Linked DNA regions of Homo sapiens: region 2 is linked to region 1. Evidence: promoter capture Hi-C in human tissues and cell types (Jung and others, 2019). All regions are on one chromosome and are shown on one strand. The core of a region is centred on a gene start or on the middle of the fragment in contact, and the rest is flanking DNA. Distances in the headings are between cores, read along the strand shown.

What was found. The method cuts DNA at HindIII sites, captures the fragments that hold promoters and counts their contacts. A contact is called where the count stands out against the background at its distance.
Region 2: the fragment with the promoter of SOX18 here is called in contact with the fragment with the promoter of GID8 in region 1 in 1 of the 25 tissues and cell types used here (dorsolateral prefrontal cortex).

What each region holds. Positions count from the first base shown.
Region 1 is chr20:62,935,985-62,941,733 of GRCh38, reverse strand. GID8 (GID complex subunit 8 homolog) reads right to left here and starts at 3,587. Exons shown (of 5, transcript NM_017896.3): 1 at 3,481-3,587; 2 at 114-243. The coding sequence starts at 231. It also overlaps a transcript of DIDO1 not described here. RefSeq lists silencers at 3,217-3,346, 3,417-3,646, 4,017-4,066, 4,337-4,386 and an enhancer at 2,853-3,521. The HindIII fragment of the contact is 10,021 bases long and covers 1-5,749 here.
Region 2 is chr20:64,046,652-64,052,400 of GRCh38, reverse strand. It overlaps SOX18 (SRY-box transcription factor 18), which reads left to right and starts at 2,762. Exons shown (of 2, transcript NM_018419.3): 1 at 2,762-3,242; 2 at 3,439-4,819. The coding sequence starts at 2,885. The coding sequence ends at 4,235. RefSeq lists promoters at 2,622-2,882, 1,985-2,882, 1,777-2,885, an enhancer at 2,210-2,891 and a silencer at 3,023-3,072. The HindIII fragment of the contact is 20,169 bases long and covers 1-5,749 here.

The DNA.
Region 1 (5,749 bases), core at 2,338-4,837:
AATGTCTGAACACAAATAACTACGTCATCAAACCTCAGTGCTACAGCACTCCTTATGTGTTCAAAAAGGGAGAATCACATTCATGCAACAGCATCCTCACTGTAAGCCATTACCTGTGACCAGGTAGTTCATGATGAGGCGGTTCATGTCTGCTCTCTGGACATGCAAGTTATTGAGCTTTTCCATCCACTCATCTTTCGTGATTTCATCGGGTTTTTCTGCATAACTCATTCTGATTTATTTCTACAGGAAAAAAATAACAGCTGAGGGAGGGGTTTAGATGCTCCTCCAAGGGCAGAGGGCAGCGCTGGAAGAGCTGTGAGCCGGAGAATCCCACACTGAGCATGTACGGAAAGACAACGCTGCCGTGGGACACCCACCAGACTGAGAATGCCAATGCTTAGCAAAGAATAAGTTCACTTCAACTTTTTCTACTCTGGTATCAGGAGAACGGACTGTGCTACAAAAACAATCTGGTACTCCTTACAAAGCTGAACATGTGTGCTCCTCACAACCCAGCAATTCTACTTTTAATACATTTATATTCTAGAAAAACTCACCAGGATGCACCAAACACAGACAACGCTGTTCACAGAAGCACCGTTCAAAGCGGCAGGAATGTGGAAGCCACCCACCTGAGCGTTCATTCAACAGCAGCGTGGACCAAGGGACTGTGGCGCACAGAACTGCATGTTTAAAACCCTTGGGCAGATGGGTTTTGGAATTCAGAATTCTTCAATGTACAACGATTATTTGGCACAATTTACCATGTAACAGCCTCACTGGGGTTTGGGGGCACTCCCCATCATCAGACGTTATTTCTTCACTGAAATGTGTTAGGTATCTATACTAAGTGGTAGAGGCTATTAAACTTTACCTGGTGAGGTTTTGGCCACCAAATAGGTTAAAAACAAAACCAAAAACTGTGGTTTCAGAGATGTTTAGATTTTTAGCATTGCTGAGAAGGGACTGTGGTCATGTATTCACACAAGAGAATTTCATAAAGCAGTTAAAATAAATGAACATGACACAAAGTCACCTGGATGACTCTCATAAAACAATGCTGAATGAAAAAAGAGAGTTGCGGCCGGGCGCGGTGGCTCACGCCTGTAATCCCAGCACTTTGGGAGGCCGAGGCGGGCGGATCACAAGGTCAGGAGATCCAGACCATCCTGGCTAACACGGTGAAACCCCGTCTCTACTAAAAATACAAAAAATTAGCCGTGCTCGGTGGCGGGCGCCTGTAGTCCCAGCTACTCCAGAGGCTGAGGCAGGAGAATGGCGTGAACCCGGGAGGCGGAGATTGCAGTGAGCCGAGATCATGCCACTGCACTCCAGCCTGGGCGACAGAACAAGACTCCGTCTCAAAAAAAAAAAAAAAATTTGCCGGGCATGGTGGCAGATGCCTGTAATCCCAGCTACTCGGGAGGCTGAGGTAGGAGAATGGCGTGAACCCGGGAGGTGGAGCTTCTAGTGAGCCGAGATGGTGCCACTGCACTCCAGCCTGGGCGACAGAGCGAGACTCCGTCTCAAAAAAAAAAAAAAAGAAAAAAAAGAAAAGAAAAAGAGAGTTGCAGGAGAGGCCAAATCTGCCGTGAGTTTTATCAGGAACAACAAGACAAAATACATGACATGTGCTTTAGCAACAAATATGTACGTGGCAAACCTATTTTGTTTGTTTTTTTTTAAATAAGGGCATGAAAGCTGACACTCAGGAGGGGGTTACCTGTGGGAGGGGCAAATGGCTGAAGCCCCAGAGGCAGCTGTTCCGGCTTTGGGAGAATGGGTGGATACCTGAGACAGGCAGGGGCACGCCACCGTCCACTCTGTCTTTCTCTTTTGCCACTGATACATACGTTACACATACTACTTTATACGAAGTACTGCTAAAGTGTTTCAATAAATTAAAAAACTTTGGTCTCTTGGCTGAAAATGGGATGAATGCAGGGTGGTGAGATCTGAGCAGCCAGTCCCTTAGGGAGACACCCAAGCGAGAGAGAACATCGGCAGAAGAGATGGAGAGCAAGGTGAGATCAAGATGCTTTGGCCAGAGTCAATGGCTGCTGCTAGACAGATTACCGGACAAAAGAGAGGGAAGAATAGAAGATGGTCACAGGTTTCAAGCATGAGAGGCCCTGCAAGATGGGGCCACAAATAAGGAGGAAGGACTGGAAGAAGAACAGGTTTGAGAAGCAGGGCAAGTTTGACGTGACTATTAGACATGCGTCTGGAGAAATCAAGCAGGTGTCTGAATTACAGATCCTGAGCTCAGAGCTGAAAACATGAATTAGTGAAATAAGGGGCGGGGGGGGCGGTGCTGGGGCACAGGGATATTTAAAGCCAAGAATTCAGCAAAGACCATAGGAAGAGCGTAGATAGGGAATGAGAATCGCCATTACTTGGAGGATGCCAACCTTGAAGGTAAAGCAGAGAAAGTGGCACCAGCAGAAGAAAACTTGATGTGGAGCGGCAGGTAAAGTGGAGGAGAAACCAGGAGTCGCTGTCACACACGAACACCCATCTTTCGTTGTCAACTGCAAAACTCACTGAGACCAACTTTTTATTCACGACAATTAATGGTAACTTAAGGACTCATTTTCTTTTTCTTTTTTTTTTGAGACAGAGCCTCGCTCTGTCGCCCAGGCTGGAGGGCAGTGGCGCGATCATGGCTCACCGCAGCCTCGACCTCCTGGGCTCAAGCGATCCTCCCACCTCAGCCTCCAGAGTAACTGGGACAACAGGAGCGCACCACTCTGCCTGGCTAATTTTTTTATTTTTAGCAGAGAAGGGAGTCTCGCTGTTGCCACGGCTGGTCTCGAACTCGCGGGCTCAAGTGATCCGCCCACTTCGACCTCCGCCACCGCGCCCGGCCCTAGGACCAACGTTAAGAGCTCCCTAGGAAAAGGCACCTTTTCTCTCGGCCCATTCGGTGATCGGCACTCACAGCGCTTCCACTCCGGGCAGTTACGTGCGCCCATGAAAAGCAACAACTTTGTAGAACTGGCCAGTCCTGTTAGCAGGAAGAACTCGGTAGTCTCAAACTCCAGCATAAAAAGATTCAGCAGAAGAAAACACCCGTGTGCTGAAGACTCCTACTTTCCATGCCACACTTTACATCCTCACCCGCTCGGTTTCTGCTTTAAAGCAGCAGATTTTATTAAAAAGACTTCGTTACGGACGTCGCTCCTCCACAGAGACAGCTACCGCCGCCCCTCAGGCTGGCCGGGACCGCCCCAGAACACCAGCGCCTGAGGCCGCGCGCCTGGAGGCTGAGCCCTGACTGCCCCCTGGGCACCGGCGCGGGGCGGCCGTCCGGGCCTGGACTCACTGCGCGCCCCAATTCCGCACCTGCCAGCGCCGGCGCTTCCAAGGCCCCCAGAGCGGGGGCGGCGCGCACCCCGGCCACATCCCGCCTGCCCGCCCGGCCCGGCCCCGGGAGACGCTCGGCCCGGCCGCCCGGGCCCGCCGCCGCCATCTTACCGTGCGGAACCTGCCTCCCGCGCTGCGCGGTCTGGGCGGCTGCGGCTCCGCAGCCTCTCCTGGGCTGGGGAGAGGTGGCGGCCGCCGGGGCGCCCGAGTAGAAGGAGGCAGAGGTGGGGGCCGCGGCGGAGGCGGGGGCGGGGGCGGGGGCGGGGAGCGGGAGGGCAGGCGCACCGGAGGCCGCCCCTCAGCACCTCTCGCGACAGCAAGAGAGCGCGAGAGCGCGAGCCGATGACCAATGAAGCGCCCCCGCGAGGGGGCGGGGCGGACGGCCTCCCGGAAGCGCGGAACCTCAGCTTCCGTACTTGCGCAGAACTCCCCTCGCGGCGACCACGCACTACGGGTTGGCGCCAGAGTCAAAAGGCGTCGGCCCTCTGGCAAGATGGCTGCTGCGGAGGCGTTGGAGCGCGGAAATCTGGAACCGGGATGGCGACGTCTACACTGAGTCGGAGGCGAAGGTCCCAGCTTTTTTCCTGTCGTTTGCGTGAGGCCGCACGGGGTGGGGCGGGGGAAAGGCGCCGGGTGTCCGCGGCCGCCCCTCAGACGGGGAGGGAGTCCCCTCCCGACCGGCGGCCTTCCAGGGCTAGTGTCCCTGAGGTCCAGGGAGAGACGGCTGACCCGAGACCGGGCTGGGCGAGAGCTGTGCTGTCTGCGCGTTGAAGCGAGTTCCCCCGCTTTACTCGAGATGTTGTTGAGCGCGTCCTCACTCGAGGCCAGGTGGGGAATCAGAAGGGCCCTGCCCTCAGGGCGCCTCCCATGGGCTACGCCGAAGGGCGGGACGCGGCCAGGGCGCGCGGGACAAAGGAGACCCCACTTGCTTGCGGGGCGGAGTCCCGGCGGCGGCGCGGGGCAGGGCCGGGGTTACTCGGTGACTGGAGACCCTCCCGGCAGGAGCGCGGGTTGAGGCCGCACTTGGGTATTTGCGCGTTTACTTGCTTATTGCCTGTCCGCTCAGGAGGAATGCGAAGTCTGTCATTGCAGGGTCCCATGTTTCCGTTGCTGGGAAGTACCTTAAAATATTTGATAGAGCCGAAGGAAGAAATAGAGTCCTTGAGGGGCAGCTCCTGATTTCATCTGTGAGGAATTCACGGGACGGCTTCTTTCTGAAGTCAGGGGTGAGGTGGTTTCGTGTGTTTGCTTACAAGCGAGCTGAACAACGTGTAAGCTATGTCGGTCGGTCTACTCAGCGACAGTAAGTCCAGTTCGGCAAATAGGTTGGAGGAGACTGATTTTGGACATTTTCCGTTAATCGAAAGAGCTAAATCTGCAGGTATAAGGTCTTGACAAAATTATGCTTCATATGCAGAGGCAGTACATGCCAGTAATTTTTTCATTTGCAACTACATAACCCTATGGGAAACAGTTATTGGTCTTTATTTAGTTATTTATTTTGAGACGAAGTCTCACTCTCGCCCAGGCTGGAGCGCAGTGGCGCCATCTCGGCTCACTGCAACCTCCGCCTCCCGGGTTCAAGCGATTCTCCTGCCTCAGCCTCCCGAGTAGCTGGGACCACAGGGGCGCACCACCACGCCCAGCTAATTTTTGTATTTTTAGTAGAGACGGGGTTTCCCCTTGTTGGTCAGGCTGGTCTCAGTGTCTTGACCTCGTGATCCGCCCGCCTCGGACTCCCAAAGTGCTGGGATTACAGGCGTGAGCCACCGCTCCCGGCCTATTTTGATTTTATTTTATTCTATTTTTTGAGAAGGAGTCTCACTTTGTTGCCCAGGCTGGAGTGCACTGTCATGATCTCGACTCACTGCAACCTCCGCCTCCTGGGTTCAAGTGATTCTCCTGCCTCAGCCTCCCGAGTAGCTGGAACTACAGGCACCCGCCACCACGCCCGGCTACTTATTTTGTATTTTTAGTACGGGTGGGGTTTCACCATGTTGGCTAGGCTGGTCTCGAACTCCTGACCTCAAATGATCACCCACCTCGGCCTCCCAAGGTGCTCGGATTACAGTCATGAGCCACCGCATCCGGCCTATTTTTATTTTTTAAAGTTTTTTAGAGACGGGGTCTTGCCTTCTTGCCCAGGCTGGTCTCGATCTCCTGGGCTCAAGCCATCCTCCCGCCTCGGCCTCTGGGAGTGCTGGGTTTACAGGCGTCAGCCACCATGCCCAGCCTGAACGTCAAGGAGAAAGTGTGCAAGGGGATGCACGAGCAGAAAGCTTGAGTGCTAGCGCCTTAAGGCGACATTCCTTAACATTCCAGTCCAAAGAGGCTGTCTCAGTGCCTGCCTGTGGGTCACAGGTTAATGCTCCTCCTCCCA
Region 2 (5,749 bases), core at 1,513-4,012, 1.1 Mb before region 1:
AGGAGGACAGTGTCCACTCAGTGCCCAGGCCAGCCCCACCCTTGTAGAGAAAGCTTGCCCCCAAACTCTGCCTTTCTGACTGGGGCTTGGGGGCTACAGATAGGCTCCTTCCCAAGGGTGGGCCATAGCCCACCTAGTCCAGGACAGACTGAGGTGGGGTTCCAGAGGCAGAGGAATGCCCCTAGACTCATGAACTGCCTGCCCTCTTTTGGAGAATGCTGGGGCCCAAGCTCAGTGGCCAGAGAAGCCTTGGGGACCCTCCAAACTTCACGGAGCAGGACCCCTGGTCCTGGACCTATTATGGGTCCTCATCTCTTCCTGGGAACGTCCAGCTTGCCTGGCTCTCAAGGCCCTGGGCAGCCTCCAGCACTAGAGTCCCCCTCACCCCACACCCAGGCAGACAGACAGACACAGGCCACACACAGATGCACAGACACACATCGGATGCCCCTCCCTCAGCACAGCTGGCCACACCCACACCATCCCCTCTACAGCCCTGGCAAGTCCCCCCAGCCCTGCGGCTCCAGATCACGCCACCCTGGCTGTGGTCCCTACCCCCACTTTGTCCCATCTGGACACTGGGCCAGGGCTGCCAGCCTCCTCCCTGCCACGCAGAGGGAGAGGAGCACCTCAGGAGGCTCCCCGCCCAGCCCCGACTCACAGGACATGACAGCCGGACACCTGAGTCCACAGCCCAGCCAAGAGGGTGGGTCACTGGCTGGCGCCAGGCAAGGCGGCTGCTGGTGGGTGTTGTGGGGGACGTGGAGGCGATGAGGTCATGCCGGACACTGCCTGCCACTATGTTTAGAGCAGCTCCAGTGACTCTGGGCTCTCGGGGGTGGCAGAGGACCAAGCAGGGCCCCCAGGGAACTGCAAATCCTTCCCCACGTGTGAGGGCTACTGCAGAGGACCCCGAGGACCTCTTTCCCAGGCCGCAGTGACCAGCCACTGCCCAGGCTGAGCCAGGCCCTGGTGACCCCTGACTGCAACCCTAAGGTTGTGAGTAGAGAGAGCTTCCGCCAAGTGGTAGCCCTTTGGGGTCTTCGCACGGCTCCCCACCCCCCCTGCACCCTCCTGCCAGCTGCCCAGGAGGCCCACCCACACTGAGACTCGGCCAAGGGTCCAGCCACCCATACTGAGATTAAAGGAGGACTAGCAGCATCCGGCAGAGGCCTGTGAGCCCCTCCATCCCTGTGGCCACAACCCTGCCTGCCTCCCCAGAAAAGCCAGGGGCCGCACCTCCTGGTGCCCCACGGGCCCCCCATTAGCCAGCACTGGCTCAGTGTCTGTGAACGAGGTGCTAGGCCCGTGGGGCAAACTGGAGGGACGGGAGATCTGGAGACCAGACTGGGAGACCCAGCCCCGTATGCTGGGACGATGGGCGTCGAGACAGACTGTGATGTGGGGCTTTGGGGAGGGCTGGACACCGACCGCGACAGCCCTCGGTGGGAGTGCCCCTGTGGGGGTGCTGGCCTCAGGGCAGGAGTGCCCCTGGGGACAGTTCAGGAACAGCCTCTAAGGGGCACTGCAAGGCCCACGTGGGGCCCACCCCATTCATAACACAGGCTGGATGTGGCCTAGCGAGGCTGGCAGGGACAGAGAACCAAGAGCTTCTGGCCACACAGGCTCAGGGTCACAAGACCTGTGGCCTCTACCCATGGGGCTCCCGGCATAGTGTGGCGGGGGGAGCTGGGGAGCCTCCAGGCTATGAGGAGATGTGCCGCGAGGTGGCGAGATTCTGACCCTGCCTGGAGGGCTGCTGGGGACACCCAACCCTTCTCCAGTAGAACCATGCGTGGCAGTGGGAGGGGAGGACCTCCAGAGGGAGACCCTCAGCTCTGGAGCCCAGATCCCCTCCTGATGGAGTAGGAAGGGGACAGTGAAAATTCAGGAAGCTGGACGCTCCTCCGGAACCCGCCCCCGCCCAGGTCAGAGGGTCCAGGGAGGGGCCAGTGGGAAGGACCCAGGTAGGCCCTGCCTCTTGCTGCAGCGGTGGCCTGGGCTGGGCAGGGGAGCCAGCAAGCCACTGAGGGTCCCAGCCCCTTCCCCAAGGGCCCTTGGGGGGCAGGGAGGACGCCACAGCCTCTGCGTCCCTGCTCCCCCTTCTCTTTGTGGGCTCCGTCCAGGGCCTCTGCTCTCTCCCTCCCTGTGTCAGCTTTGCCTTGTGCCAGAGTTGGTTTGGGAGTGAGGACAGAAGACCATCTTGTCCCATAAAGGCACTCAAAGTCCCTGGTGCTGACGGTTACACATGGGTGTAGAGTTTCCAGCATGGGCGCCCCTGGGGACTCAGAGCGCCTCCCCAAAGACGGGGCCTTTTCTGAAGGCGCTGCACTCCAGGAAGGACTTACCGGCTGTTGGGAAGGCAGCCTCCCCAGAACTTGGTGTGAAAAAGGGCCCTCTCCTCCCCATGGAGCCTCCCAGCGGGGGGCGGGGAACGGCAACCAGCGGGACACTGCCGCCCTCCCCCAGTTACTGCCCGGGGGTCCGACTCCGTGGGTGGGTGGCAGCTCGCCTCCGAAAGTCTGGCAGCACCGGCCCTCATCAGCAGCCCTTTCTTTCCCACCCGGGGGGTCTCTCCTTCTGAGAGGTCGCGGGGGAGGTGGGGGGGCTGTGCGCGGGGGAGGCCTCAGCGGAATCCCGCCCGGCCTGAGAAGAAAGGGAGCCCCCGGGGAGGAGGCGGCCCCGACCCGCCCCCGCCCGCCCGCCCCGCCGCCGATTGGCCCTGAGCCGCTATATCTGGGCGCCCGCCCGGCCCGAGGCCACCGCCGTCCCCACCGCCATCCGCCCTCCCGGCCTGGCCTGCCCTTGCGCCCGGCTCCCCAGTGCCCGCCGCCCGCCCGCCGCGCTCCCGCGCTCCGTTCCGCCCAGGCCGCGCCCAGCTGGAATGCAGAGATCGCCGCCCGGCTACGGCGCACAGGACGACCCGCCCGCCCGCCGCGACTGTGCATGGGCCCCGGGACACGGGGCCGCCGCTGACACGCGCGGCCTCGCCGCCGGCCCCGCCGCCCTCGCCGCGCCCGCCGCGCCCGCCTCGCCGCCCAGCCCGCAGCGCAGTCCCCCGCGCAGCCCCGAGCCGGGGCGCTATGGCCTCAGCCCGGCCGGCCGCGGGGAACGCCAGGCGGCAGACGAGTCGCGCATCCGGCGGCCCATGAACGCCTTCATGGTGTGGGCAAAGGACGAGCGCAAGCGGCTGGCTCAGCAGAACCCGGACCTGCACAACGCGGTGCTCAGCAAGATGCTGGGTGAGCGGCGGGAGGGCGGCAGAGAAGGGGGAGAGGGCGGGGGGGGCTCGGGCCGGGGTGGGGCGGGGGGGGCAGGGGTCCCGGGCCGCGGGGTGCGGGGGCTGCGCCAAACCCTCGCGGGGCGTCCCGGGCGCACGGAGGGCTCGGCGCCCACCCGCCCGACGGCGTTCCACTCACTGGCGCCCACGGCCCGCAGGCAAAGCGTGGAAGGAGCTGAACGCGGCGGAGAAGCGGCCCTTCGTGGAGGAAGCCGAACGGCTGCGCGTGCAGCACTTGCGCGACCACCCCAACTACAAGTACCGGCCGCGCCGCAAGAAGCAGGCGCGCAAGGCCCGGCGGCTGGAGCCCGGCCTCCTGCTCCCGGGATTAGCGCCCCCGCAGCCACCGCCCGAGCCTTTCCCCGCGGCGTCTGGCTCGGCTCGCGCCTTCCGCGAGCTGCCCCCGCTGGGCGCCGAGTTCGACGGCCTGGGGCTGCCCACGCCCGAGCGCTCGCCTCTGGACGGCCTGGAGCCCGGCGAGGCTGCCTTCTTCCCACCGCCCGCGGCGCCCGAGGACTGCGCGCTGCGGCCCTTCCGCGCGCCCTACGCGCCCACCGAGTTGTCGCGGGACCCCGGCGGTTGCTACGGGGCTCCCCTGGCGGAGGCGCTCAGGACCGCGCCCCCCGCGGCGCCGCTCGCTGGCCTGTACTACGGCACCCTGGGCACGCCCGGCCCGTACCCCGGCCCGCTGTCGCCGCCGCCCGAGGCCCCGCCGCTGGAGAGCGCCGAGCCGCTGGGGCCCGCCGCCGATCTGTGGGCCGACGTGGACCTCACCGAGTTCGACCAGTACCTCAACTGCAGCCGGACTCGGCCCGACGCCCCCGGGCTCCCGTACCACGTGGCACTGGCCAAACTGGGCCCGCGCGCCATGTCCTGCCCAGAGGAGAGCAGCCTGATCTCCGCGCTGTCGGACGCCAGCAGCGCGGTCTATTACAGCGCGTGCATCTCCGGCTAGGCCGCCGGCGCCGCCCGGGTCCCTGCAGCGCTTCCTCCCGCAGCCCCCGCGACCGATCCGACCGCGTCGCTGCCGCTCTGCTCTCTCATACGCGTGTATGTTTGGTTCCATGTCACAGCCCCCTAGGAGCCAGTGATGCTCGGCCTTGCGCCCGTTCCACCTCCCAGGCCACCCTTCCTGGGCTTCTGGGCCACCTGCCCTCGGGGGGCCCCTGCGAGGGTGCCTGGAGTTCCCACGTGTCCCGGGGCTTTTCCAGGAAGCCCGAGCCCAGGACCTGTTGGCAGAGTTGCCAGGGTTACATTTTTGAAGCACCTGCTCCTTTTCTTGCAGTGTATTTTCTACAACCAGATTGTATTAATATTTTTTACTTTGCCCTTTTAAAAAATATACCTAATACAATATATTTAATTTTTAATTAAACTCTTAAACTTTTCTTCCAAGAAGTTTCAGTGATCAGAAGCGTCACTGTGGCAAAGACTTTTGCAATGTGAGGAATACAGATGTTTGCTTTCTATAAAGGAGGAGCCTGGAGCTGGGTCCCCGGACGGAGAGGCCACAATAAATCCTCGGGCCTTTCCTCTGCACACTGACATCTGTGGTGTTTGCAGGGAGGGAAAAGCAGTTCCCCAAATAGCCCTGGACGCCCCTTCCCTCCGAATCGCCCCCAGGGAGCCTGACTCCTAGCTTGAACCTCATAGCACTCCTTCATCCTTCCGTGACACATCCCAGAGAGCGTGGGTAGCAGGCATGGGTCCACACTCCCCCCCAGCCCTCCACTCCCCTCCTGTCCCACCCCCAGGTTAACTCAAGCCTATCGGAGGTCAGACTATACCAGCAATCCTGTCACACCCCCGCTAGGGTTTCATCGCCCTTGCCTCCACCTTAAAACTTCCATGCCCAAGGACTGCCCAGTACGGCCCCCTTTCCTGAGGGAGGCTGGCAGGTTGGCAGCCCACATGCAGACACAGACTCCAGGGTCTCCGTCAGCTGTTCTAACTCACCCCAGGGAGGACAGCACCATGCTACACCCACAGCGCTCCCCCCACCCGGGTGACCTGTCCAGCTCTGCCCAGAGACAGGTCCGATGGCCAAGGCAGGAGAGCACAGGCTTCACATCCCAAGACCCCCCAACTCTGGAGTCGTATCTCACTAGCCCCCAGGAGGACTGGACACCCTCTTTCTTTTTCTTTCTCTCTCTTTTTTTTTTTTGAGACGGAGTCTCGCTGTGTCACCCAGGCTGGAGTGCAGTGGAGCAATCTCGGTTCACAGCAAGCTCCACCTGCTGGGTTCACACCATTCTGCTCAGCCTCCTGAGTAGCTAGGACTACAGGCGCCCACCACCACACGTGGCTAATTTGTATTTTTAGTAGAGACGGGGTTTCACCGTGTTAGCCAGGATGGTCTCGATCTCCTGACCTCGTGATCCGCCCGCCTCGGCCTCCCAAAGTGCTGGGATTACAGGTGTGAGCCCAGCGCCCGGCCTGGACACCGTCTTTCCATGCTGACCTCTTGGT